2 separate regions of the Homo sapiens genome follow, and region 2 is linked to region 1. Evidence: promoter capture Hi-C in human tissues and cell types (Jung and others, 2019). All regions are on one chromosome and are shown on one strand. The core of a region is centred on a gene start or on the middle of the fragment in contact, and the rest is flanking DNA. Distances in the headings are between cores, read along the strand shown.

The links. Contacts are between HindIII fragments. The study calls those that stand out against the background at their distance.
Region 2: a fragment that was not itself captured here is called in contact with the fragment with the promoter of FMN1 in region 1 in 2 of the 25 tissues and cell types used here (IMR-90 fibroblasts and aorta).

The regions. Positions count from the first base shown.
Region 1 is chr15:33,193,381-33,199,675 of GRCh38, forward strand. FMN1 (formin 1) reads right to left here and starts at 1,334. Exons shown (of 21, transcript NM_001277313.2): 1 at 1,198-1,334; 2 at 529-680. It overlaps LOC105370759 (a long non-coding RNA gene), which reads left to right and starts at 1,531. Exons shown (of 3, transcript XR_932090.3): 1 at 1,531-2,195; 2 at 5,862-6,002. RefSeq lists silencers at 1,313-1,652, 1,427-1,636. The HindIII fragment of the contact is 9,448 bases long and covers 1-4,482 here.
Region 2 is chr15:33,519,340-33,525,149 of GRCh38, forward strand. All of the region lies in intron 3 of RYR3 (ryanodine receptor 3), which reads left to right. Among named protein-coding and RNA genes, the nearest start is that of RYR3, 210 kb to the left of the region's middle. The HindIII fragment of the contact is 3,649 bases long and covers 1,925-5,573 here.

The DNA of each region.
Region 1 (6,295 bases), core at 84-2,583:
TAGAGAACAGAATATAATTCTCTCTCCTAGGAATTTAGATGCGCCCCTCCGCCCCCCTGCCAATACACACGCAAGGGGGCATAGCAGATGATGGCACATGTCCCATATGCAAACATGAATAGTAAACATGCTTTAGTACAGCTGGAGCTACTGTAGCAGAAAGTCAGGTTGTCTGCTACTCCACCTGGTCTTCTTAAAGGATTGGGTCTGGACATTCACCTCTCAGTGACTGCCACTCCCCATATATATCACAGGTTCAGGCTCTGCATTCAGCCCATTCGGAGTGTGTGAGTGCTAACATGGAACTCTCCAGGAGACAGCAAGCAGAAATGTGGATGATTAAAATAAAGGGTTTTCTTTGGCAATCTCAATTGCAAATGAGGATAAGGAAAATCCTCCCAGCTCACACTCTGCTCCCAGCTACTTGTTCTTGAGTTAAATGAGGGCTTGGCTCTGGCCTCAGGGGGCAAGAGCACTGTTCGTTATTTGGTGGTGGGGGAGGGGGTTGGGGGATCCGTCAGCACTTACATGCCTTTAGAGAATCTGCCTTTACAGAACTTGAAGAGCTCTGATGGAGGAACAGAGATGCTGTGGTGGTAGTGGCCTTGGAGGTGGTGGTAGTGGCAATGGTGATGATGATGATGATGAAAGAAGAAGAAAACGGTGATGGTAAATGTCATCTATAAACACAAGCAAAAAGCAGCAACAGATACCTTTCTAGTCATTGCCAACCATAGTCATGAAGCTGCTTCTGTTCCCAATGCAATCCCATTGTGGTGCTCCCCCTCTGCGCTAAACACATCCAGCTTCAAAAAAAAAAAAAAAAAAAAAAAAAAGCTCTGCATCTCTCCGTCCCCCGCCCTCCCGCCCTCCCGCCCTCCACCTTTCCTGTGCCAAGCTGGGAATGAGACTGCACTGGCGGGTCAAGGGGGCTGGGACCTGAGAGTCAACGACAGGAGTTCTGTAGTGAGGAGCGTTGGGATGACCCGGAGGGCCCACCAACGTACTTGGGAGCAGCTTGGTGGGGGAGCTGGAGGAACCGACACAGAAGGGGAGGAAGATAAGCTGGCGGGGTAAATAGACTTGATGCCTCATTCCAAGAACCCTGAAAGCCACGGGGGAAGGCGGAGCAGGCAGCCTTTGGTCGGGAAGAAGAGACGGGCAGATGGCCAGCAGAACAGACAAGACTCTCTTTACCTGACCAATACTCGGGAGGCTGGTCCCGAGTCCCAGCTACTCGGGAGGCTGAGGCAGGAGGATTGCTTACGGCAACAGCCGTGGCGGCTGCAGCCTCGAAGGATGCTGCGCTCCAGTCCAGAGCCAAAGCCCAAAGGGGCAGCTGCGCCGACCTCCACCGAGGCTCCGCCCCACAGGCCACAGGCCCCGCCTTCCTAGCACGCGCCGGCCTGACGAGCTGTTTGGGGGAGGTGAGCAGTAAACTGATCGGCAGGGCTGAAGACCAGTGGAAACGTGCAGCGGCGCCCGAGGTGGCAGGGGAGGCGGGGCGGGAGGCGGCGGTGCCCAATCAGCAGCCGAGCCGTTGGGCCAGGCTGGGAAGCAGTGCTGTCTTTTGGCACCGTCTGATCCGGGCTGAGGGATTGAAGGCGGTGGTCGCTAAGCTAGGTCTAAGACGGACAGCCAGGGCGACAACCAGTCTCTCGCTACGTGTCCCCAGCTTCCCTGTTTCCGAGCGCCTCTCAAGGCGCACGCTCTGGACTTGTTCAGATGGGGGAAGGGAACTGGTCTGGAACTCCCCACTATTCCCGAGGTTCCCACGCCTCCAGATCCGGAGAGGCCGTTTCGCTCCAGTGGCCTGGCCCCCCTGCCCCCTCAGCCTAGCCGTTCTTGATCGTAAGTGCTAAAAGGAACAAAGAAGGAGAATTCAAGAATCCACACATAAGCCCAAACCCTGACAGGAGCCTTTTCCTCTCCCATCTCCTGCCTACGCTTCCTCCTAGTAGCTTTTTAACTGCTGGCGGTTAAGTTACTTTGACTGGTTTGAATTAAACGCAAAATAGGTTTAGGCTGAGAAATGGGCCAGACCCTTGGCGATCTGAGAAAGAAAGACTGAGTCCGGATGTCAAGAGGCCTGGGCCTCACGAGGGAGTTTGTCTGCTTATTTGAACACCTCAGAGTTGAAGATCTTGTTACTGCTATTTCTGTGCTGGTGAATCAGTACAGACCTTGATGCCAAGGTACTGTTTTGTCCCCAAGTGTCTAATCATTACTGAAATGAACTACCTTCAAACCTTTCCTAAGAGGATTTGAGGCCTTAATGTCGTTGAGATTTGGAATGTGATTTGAGTGACACTGAGATCTTTTCCAAGTAGGTAGGCAAGAAAAGGCATTGTCTTTAATCTGCTTTTGGATAAATGCGAACTGTATCACCCATTTGGTACTTGAAGATAGAATTTTGTCCTGAATAGATTCTGTTTTCAAATAAGTAAATGGGAAAAAAATTTGGAAGGTATTTTTAAGGTGATTTTTTTCACTATTTTTTTTCTAGAAATAATAGTTTATTGGAACTCTGATTTATTCTTAATCACAATATTAGCCAAACACTGATAGGCCCTTTATTTATTTGTTTTTTTAACACACGGTCTCACTCTGTCACCCAGGCTGGGGTGCAGTGGTGCGATCTTGGCTCACTGCAGCCTCAACCCCGTGGGCTAAAGCCATCCTCCCAACTCAGCCTCCAAAGTACCTGGGACTACAGGCGGGCACCACCATGTCCAGCTAATTTTTTAATTTTTTATTTGTAGGGACAGGGTTTCACCATATTGCCCAAGCTGGTCTCAAACTCCTAAGCTCAAGCGATCTTCCCTTCTCAGCCTCCCAAAATGCCGAGATTACAGTTGTGAAGTGCTGTGCCCGGCTCCATAGGCACTTCATATACATTATCTCCTTCAATCCTCATATCTTCCCCTTGTAAATTCCACTTATAGATAAGAAAACTGAGGTTCCCAAAGTTCAAGTAATTGTCCTTGGGTCATGTTCGTAGTTAGGAGTAGAGTCAATACGAGGTCCGTATATCTCCTGTCTAAAAATCATCATCATCAGTTAGAAGAATAAGAAGCCCTCAGTACGACTCTTAATTCCTTGATGCTTTTTTCTTTTTACCTGAAAATTGTCATATAGGGATCCAGTTTTCACACTACTGACTTCTTGAAACCGCAGCCTCAGAAGCACCTTTAAGAGTGAAGTGTCACCTCTGACATGTGTTAGGAGCAATTGCAAGTCAACTTTGCTCATAGAAGGGAGCTGTGATTTCCTATTGTTGGGAAGGAAGTAAAATTTTGCAGGGCTTAAGTCAAACTAGGTTTTAATTGATGTAGAAATCTTTTAAAGTCCACCCACAAAATAATATCATGGTCGTGTGAGCTGAGTCCTAGAAAGGTAAAAGGATGTTAATCCAAAGTCATATTCCAGCATTGTTTCAACAGTGTTCTGAAGAAATTCCTAAATCCTACTCTGGCCTTTAATCAAACCTGGAAATATGTACTTGCTCTAAGCTTGGTAGGGGGAGGGAGTAGGAGGTGTTTTAAAGAGAAAGGAGAAGAAAAATATTTTCCCAAAGAGGCTATTAATAAAGACAAAATATAAATAAGTTAAAGGTTATAGATCAATACAAAGGTATACACTAATTAACAAGTTAGTGGAGTTTTGTTTTGTTTTGTTTTGTTTTGTTTTGTTTTGTTTTGTTTGAGACAATTTCACTCTGTCACCCAGGCTGGAGTACACTGGTGTAATCTCGGCTCACTACAACCTCTGTCTCTCAGGTTCAAGTGATTCTCCTGCCTCAGCCTCCTGAGTAGCTGGGACTACAGGCATACACTACCATGCCTGGCTATTTTTTGTGTTTTTAATAGAGATGGGGTTTCACCATGTCGTCCAGGCTGGTCTCGAACTCCTGACCTCAAGCAATCTGCCCGCCTCGGCCTCCCAAAGTGCTGGGATTACAGGCGTGAGCCACCATGCCCAGCTTGTTAGTGGAGTATTTATGTGATCCTTGCTTAATAAACAGTTACTGGCCGAGAGGATTGCATGGACCCAGGAGTTTGAGACCAGACTGGGCAACACAGTGAGACCCTATCTCTACAAAAAATAAATGTTAAAAAATTAGCTGGGTGTGGTGGTGCATGCCTGTAGTCCCAGGTACTCGAGAGGCCGAGGCAGGAGGATCACTTAAGCCCTCGCACTGCAGCCTGGGTGACAGAGCTAGATCCTGTCTCAAAATAAAAAATAAAAAATGAAAAAATAAACAGCTACTAAGTGCCTAATATATGTTATTGTACTAGACTCTAGGGATATCCAGTTCAATAAAGCCCATTTCCTAATGGAAATGCACAGCCTAGCTGAGAACACTCAATCTGGACCATACCTGAAGAGATCACTTTATCAACAAAATTACTAATCTTCACAACCACCCAGCAGGGTAGGTGTTATCACCACCTCAAGGCTGAGGAAACTCGGACTAGAGAGGATAGTGACTCACTTGAGGTTGCAAGTTTAAGAAAAAGTCTTGACCCCAAATCATTCTGACCTGGAGGCCCACATTTTCTTTCTTTCCTTTTTTTTTTTTTTTTTTTTGACGGAGTCTCTGTTGTCCAGGCTGGAGTGCAGTGGCGCAGTCTCGGCTCACTGCAACCTCCGCCTCCTGGGTTCAAGCGATTCTCCTGCCTCAGCCTCCTGAGTAGCTGGGATTACAGGTGCCCTACCCAGCTAATTTTTTGTGTTTTTAGTAGAGATGGGATTTCACCATGTTGGCCAGGCTGGTCTCAAACTCCTGACCCAGTGATCTGCCCGCCTCAGCCTCCCAAAGTGCTGGGATTACAGGCATGAGCCACCAAGCCCGGCCAAGGCCCACATTTTCACAATATACCATACTGCCTGCCTAAGAGAAAAAGCTGTCTCTGATAATCCTTACCGAAATGCATTCCTCTGTGGAACATGTGAAGTAGATGATACAATGCCTATGAATTCGAAATTACTAAATTTGGTCAATTTGCTTATCAAAGGGAACCAAGAAAACGGAAATAATGGTCCTTGCCTACCTGGGGCTTAAGGTACTATTTACACATTCTCGTTTGAAGTCCCCAGGGGTAAATAGGATTTCATGGGATTCCCCATTCATTCCTGTGTTATTATATACATATATTTTAATATATATAATACATATATAATTAATTTTAATGTATATTAATACATATAATTTTCATTCAGTGTTCCTGGCTCATAACTCCCGTAGCCATTGTTGGTGTTTTTTTATAATGCTGTGTGTGTTAGGCCTCAGGGCCAGGCCTCAGGAAACAGAATCTCTCTCCTGCCCTCTCCTTATCTGCCCCAAGGCAGGACTCTAATCTTCTCCACCTTTCTGATTGTGGGTCTTAAGAACCTCCCCACAGAGAATCCCACCCTATACACTGGGGGAAGGAATGGTGACATCATGAAGCTTCCATAAAAACCCAAGAGGATGGGTTTTGGAGAGCTGAACCTGTGGAGGCTGACAGGAAGGTGAAGAAGAACTCGCATGTGCTGGGCGGATGGCACCGCTCAACTCCTGGGGACAGAAGCTCCTACGCTTGGGACCCTTGCAGACCCACACCCTATATATTTCTTCATCTGGCTGTTTATTTGTATTCTTTAAAATATCCTTCTTAATAAACCGGTAAGTGTGTTTCTGAGTTCTGTGAGCTGCTCTAGCAAATTAATCAAACCCAGAGAGGGAGTCGTGGGAACCCCAGCTTGAAGCTGGTTGGTCAGAAGTTCCGGAGGAAACCCGACTTACAACTGGTGGGTCATGGAGAGGGTGGTCTTGTGGGACTGAGTCCTCAACCTGGGGACTCTGACTCTGTCTCCAGGTACATAGTGTCAGAACTGAATTGGAGGACACCCAGCTGGTGTATACTGCTTCATGTCGGGGAGAAAAACCCCCACACCTTTGGTCACAGAAGGCTTCTGTGTTGATGTTCGTTGTGATGATGTGAGAGCAGAGGAAAAAGGTGGGTTGAGAGAGTTTTTCCCAAAGCAATCCCTACGCTGTTTTCTTTGCCCCTTAGTTCATGTTTAGTAAAATTAGTTAGTGAAGATCACACCCAAGTATGGTGGGAAGACCAGCAGAATTGAGCTCACTTGCTTATTGGAAATGCAAAATCTCAGGTTCACCCCAGACGTCCTGAATTCAAACTGCATTTTAATAAACTACCCCTAAGCGATTCCTAGGCACTAAAGTTTGAGGGCTGTTTAACCTGGGAGAAATGCATTTAATAACTCCAGCAGCTTTCTGCCCAAAGAG
Region 2 (5,810 bases), core at 2,499-4,998, 330 kb after region 1:
CATTAGTCCTAAAGTTAGCAAAGGCAAGCAATCATGTTTGTTCTTTGCTTCTTTGGAGTTCCGGAGAAATATTAAAAGGAAAGTCAATCACTGGTCCAAAAGGATGCTTCCGAGAACACAGAAGTGCTTGCCGACTGCATGCATCATACATGAAGGGTCCTATGTGGCTAAGTCCTGGAGGGGTGACTGTCAAGCCTGACTGTGCATTTGAATTACCTGGGAGCTCAGACCTCACCATAGGCCCACCAAATTGGAATCTTATGAAAATGACCCAGCTTTTATGTTGTTTTTTTTTTTTCTTCTTTTGTATTCATTTTTAAATCTCCACTAGTTATTCCGGTCTATAGCTGGGATTGAGGGCCACTTTTCTAGAATGAAATCATGAGAGGTTCAGAAGAATGATGTCATTGCCTTCAGAACAGCCCCTGGTCCGTGGACAGGTGCTAAGTATTAGGAGCATCCGTTCTGTCTATCCCCAGGCCCACATACACAGGACCCTGGAGAATCAGCCTCTCCACCCAAGGCTACTTCATATACTTCAAGAAAAAGGCAAGATCGCTGTTTGTTTTGCTGGGTAATATAAACTTGGCCCCATGCTCATTATGTGGATATAGAGAGAACAAGAAGAATCGATCTCCAACTAGGAAAATCATAGTTGAGACCAGTACAAAAAAGATAGAGAGATTTAAAAAAATAAAGGTTGGTTGTTACAGGACATCCAAGGGGGAAAAAACCCCATGTAAGTTGAAGAACTGCAGGAAAGGGGGAGGAGGATCAGATAACAAAATAGAATCCAGTTGACCTTCTGCTTTATAGCTTGTGTGGGTAAAGGTGTTACACACAGTAGTAGTCAGCAGGGTTTTATGATAAAAAACTTACTCCTATTTTGTTATCTATAAATCCTCAGGATGAACAGTGAGTTTTTTTATAGAGAAACAGTAGATTAGAAACAGTGTTCAAATTTTCACGTCAAGGTAATCGGACTTTTTGAATGTTAGACTCTTTGTTGGAAATACTCATTATGCTACATTTGGTGAATGGAAATAATTGGGCAGAGCTCTTAATATTGACCCTTTGTGGTCACTGGTCCACTGTTTCATCTGAAGCCTGATGAGGAGGAGGAGTATGGGTGGTTCAAATAGAAACCAGAGCAGTGACTAGAAAACAAATTTGGCTGACAGGCTCCTTTTATGCAAAGAATAAATTTGGCAACATCAGATTCTTAATCTATTAGCTACAGGAGAAGGTGGTGGGAATAATTCGGAAAAAAAAAATTGCCTCACCTCTTTCCAAAGCATACTTGTCATCAATCTAAATGTCATTAATACGCTGACAAATATCTGGCGATTTGCTCTTTTAAAAGACACCATAATAAGAAACATGTGTTAGGGTTGCCATTTTGGCTCACTGTTCTCTCCATGGCATCTGTGTTCAAAGAAAAGCACAGATGTATACAGGATGACCCTGCCCAATTTGGAGGCATACCAGTGACCACCTTTTCCCCCTCAATGGAAAATGCTCATCTGTCTGTTTGAGAAGCAGTGTTTGAAAAGTATCAGGACTAGTGGGAAACTCAGTCATTTAATTTGTTCCCCAACCATTATGGATTGGGACAAAAGGGGAGGAAAATGGTTGCAGAAATCTACATCGATTCTCATAGGGCAAAGGCTCTTATTTTTAAAGTCTTGGAAGGCAGGAGGTTCCCCAGTTGTCTTCAGTTGCACATTTGGAGTTTAAGTCTGCACCATCCAGGGGATCTTCCTACGGCTTTAGGTGCCCACAGGAAAGAATCAACTCTAGGTTACCATAGCATCTCGTTTGCAGTCTCCAACCCATCTGAGCCATCTCGCAGATTATACCTATTCCATGTGCTAAACTTGTGCAAAGCAGAATCTAAGTTGGTGTTTTCCTGAAAGAGACTACTTTACTGGGGTACAGGTTCTTGCTGCAAATGATGCCTGTGACTGAGAATTTACACCTTCTCAAATTAGGCTCTGGCCTTTCATCCTTTTGTTCTGAAATACTTCCATGTGGCAGTGAAACTAATGACATGAACAAAAAGGAGATTGCGCCACCTTCTCATCCAGGAAAAATAATTCTAGGCACTTCCAAGAGAGAGGGTTAGCTGGATTCAGTAAATTATAAACCATGGGAATGGTAAATTTGACATTCAGTAGTGGGCGGAGGGGGATGGATTGTTTGATTTTGCCTCTGTTTTCCTTGCTTAGTGGCAAAGTTTATGTATTTAAAAAATCAAAGGAGTGCCTTTCTGTGCACTGCTTTTCAAGTATTCTTCTCTTTTGTCCTGTGATATGAGGAGACAGGAAGAAGGCAGTACTGTGGGTGTCGAAGGTGGGGCTCCCTGGAGTCAAGGTCACTCTACAAGAGCACAGCAGCAGACAGAGTGACTGCCATAGGTCCTTCTGCCACCAGATGCAGCCAACTTTCTTTTCTGGGGTAAGGGCTGTCCTATTGTGCATTGCAGCCTTTGACATTTGGTCCTGTCTTTTTAGTAAGGCAACTGCTAGCTGACCAAGTAAGACTGCCATGATCACTGAATTTGGGGGAAGTAGTACTTTCAGATGCTGTGCCTTCCTCCTGTTTTCTGAACTTCATTAAGATTCTATTTGATGGCCAGATGCGGTGGCTCATGCCTGTAATCCCAGCACTTTGGGAGGCCGAGGCAGGCAGATCACCTGAGGTCATGAGTTCGAGACCAGCCTGGCCAATATGGCAAAACCCCATCTCTACTTAAAAAAAAAAAAAAAAAAAAACTAGCCAGGTGTGGTGGTGTGAGCCTGTATTCCTAGCTACCCAGGAGGCTGACACAGGAGAATTGCTGGAACCCAGGGGGCAGAGGCTGCAGTGAGCTGGGATTGCACCACTGCACTCCAGCCTGGGCAACAGAGCAAGACTCCATCTCAAAAAAAAAAAAAATTCTGTTTCATAGTTTCAGTTTTCACTTTTCTCTCAAGATGCCCATGAAAGATGCCAGGGGTGTCGCCCCCTTTCAAGCATGTTTCTGTGAAGGACCTGTACTGCTCTGGCTGAGTTGGTCCAGGCCCACTTGGAAGATTTCTTAGGGGGGAAAAACCTCTTCACAAAGTTCCCTGAAGTCAATGGCTCAGGCACCTCTGACTCTCGGCTTTAGATTCGTATTAATTACCCCATTATGAGTTGAAAATCAAGGTGTCAAAAGAACGATACCTTATGCTGTATAGTGCTTTATACTCCAAGGTTGAGAGCCACAGGAGGTAGAGAGAATCTTTGTTCAGCTCAGGAGAAGGAGGGTTTGGCAATTAGCCAGTTGAGGATTTAACTATCTGATCCAAAAAAGGTGGTGAAGAAACAAGTTAAGTGTCCCACACTGGGCTCTTTGGGGTTTCATACCAGTTTCAGGGAGTTAGGATGGCTACCTGTACTTAGCGAGCTCCTGTTGCCTCATTCTCTGGCTGTGACTCCTCATCACAGGCCATACTCATCTGTGCATGTGCCCCTCCTACCCCTGGGCTGTACTTTCTAATTCCCAGTCTACTACCACAAAATCCTTCATTAACTATTAATATCATTAAAGAAGAAAAAAATATCCGTGTTACCAGATGTTTACAATTCAAGGCCTGTTTGGAAAATGCCCCATCAGTTCCTTTGGTGTCATTTGAGCTGGAGAGGTGTTGTCTAGCCCTATTGAGAGGTGAAGCCAGCTGGGCTTCTGGGTGGGATGGGGACTTGGAGAAATTTTATGTCTGCCTAAAGGATTGTAAATGCACCAATCAGCACTCTGTGTCTAGCTAAAGGATTGTAAACACACCAATCAGCACTCTGTAAAATGGACCAATCAGCACTCTGTAAAATGGACCTATCAGCAGGATGTGGGCAGGGCCAAATAAGGGAATAAAAGCTGGCCACCCGAGCCAGCAGCGGCAACCTGCTGGTGTCCCCTTCCACGCAGTGGAAGCTTTGGTCTTTTGCTTTTCACGGTAAATCTTGCTGCTGCTCACTCTTTGGGTCCACACTACCTTTATGAGCTGTAACACTCACTGCGAGGGTCTGAAGCTTCATTCCTGAAGTCAGCGAGACCACCAACCCACCGGAAGGAGCAAACTCTGGACACCCCACCTTCAGGAGCTGTAGCACTCACCGCAAGGTCTGCGGCTTCATTCTTGAAGTCAGTGAGACCAAGAACCCACCAGAAGGAACCAGTTCCGGACACACTATCTGTCCACCCCTCCTGGAAGAGCAGTCTGCTTGAGTAGGATCTTTGGAGTTTGGCCAGCTAAGGGAGTGATCTGCTAGCCTATAGCAGTAGGGCAGGGTAGACCTAGAATCTAACAGCTGTGTGAGGCAGCCTTGAGAAGCAGGGAATGCACCAAGTCCCCAAAAACAAGAACGGGATTTAAAGTGAAGAGGGACAGTCAGAGGAGCCACTGGGTTTGGGACCCAACTGCAACGAATCCCTGCAGCAGGAGATGTTTACTTTGGAGTCTGGAGCTGAGCCTGAGGGAGCTATGGGGAAGGGAGTCAGGTATCGTCAATAAAGGCTGCCTCTCTAGCGTTTCCGTGTAACACCAAGGGTAAAGAAAGACTCTGGAGTCAGTGTCTTAAAAGCAATGATGCTAGATATGTGTCCCCATCTGCCTTTCAGGTAGGTAAAGTCGTTTCCTGAGGATCCTGGCAAAGTAATCGTACCCACAAGCAACTGAAGGTACAGGGAATAGGCAAAATACTTTTAAAATGCTCGATTTCATTAAACACACGTACCATGTTGTTGCACTACCCCCCTACACACACATACACACACTATCCTTTTCCCCAAAATGCTGATATAGTAATAGTGTTAAAGAAAATTTAGAAAAGGAAAAATTCAGTGGTTCGGCAGCCAGCCAAATGGCTATTTCATTTTCATAGGTTTCCTTATTCTTGCCTATATGTAATACTTGAAGGTATTTTGTTTTCTGCTTTTCCCACGGTGGCATATCACAAATGTTTTTCTGTGTTTCCACATAACCTCTGTAATTGCCTTCTTTAATAGGTAAAGCATAGAACATCCTCAAGAAGCCTCATAATTTACTAGGTAATATTTTTCTTTGGGACAGTTAGGTTCTTTCCAGGTTTTTTGTTTTGTTGCGCCTATTATAATGCTCTTATCACAGCTGGGTGCACACTTTTCTTTGCTTGTCTTGAATTGCTCCCAGAAGCAGAATCACTACAGAAAAGGTTATGGACTTCCTTATGGCCCTTTTCATATACTTCCATATTGCTTTGCAAAAGGGTTGTATTCCGTACCACCTTGCCTGGAATCTCATCAGCTAAATTGCAACTCTGATAGCATTAAGCTTTTTTTTCCCCACTTTTGCAAATTTTGCAGATGTAAAATGATATATCAAAGTTGCTTCAAGTGTCATTCCTTTCATTACTAGAAAAGATAGAATCTCTTCCATATGTTTGAATTTTCTTCTAATATGCGTCATTTATTCATATTCTTTGCCGACTTCTATGAGGCTTAGTTTTTTTCCCTACATTTCAACGAGATAGTAACCCTTTTGTCATAGTGTTACAAAGTCTTTCTGTAGTCTATTAAATGTTGGTGTTTCCATTGTTCTGAATTTCAGTAATTTTGGTACAATCGTATCTGTCTTCTATTGCCTTTGAGTATATCTGATGCATCAAAGCATGGATAAATATTAGGTCTGTGAAGAATGTAGACTCTTCCGTTGCATGCTAGTTGTTTTAGAATTTAATTTTAAAATGAAATATTTAATTATGTTATCCATCTGTAACTTATCTTTTTATGTTTCCTGTGGATCTTACTG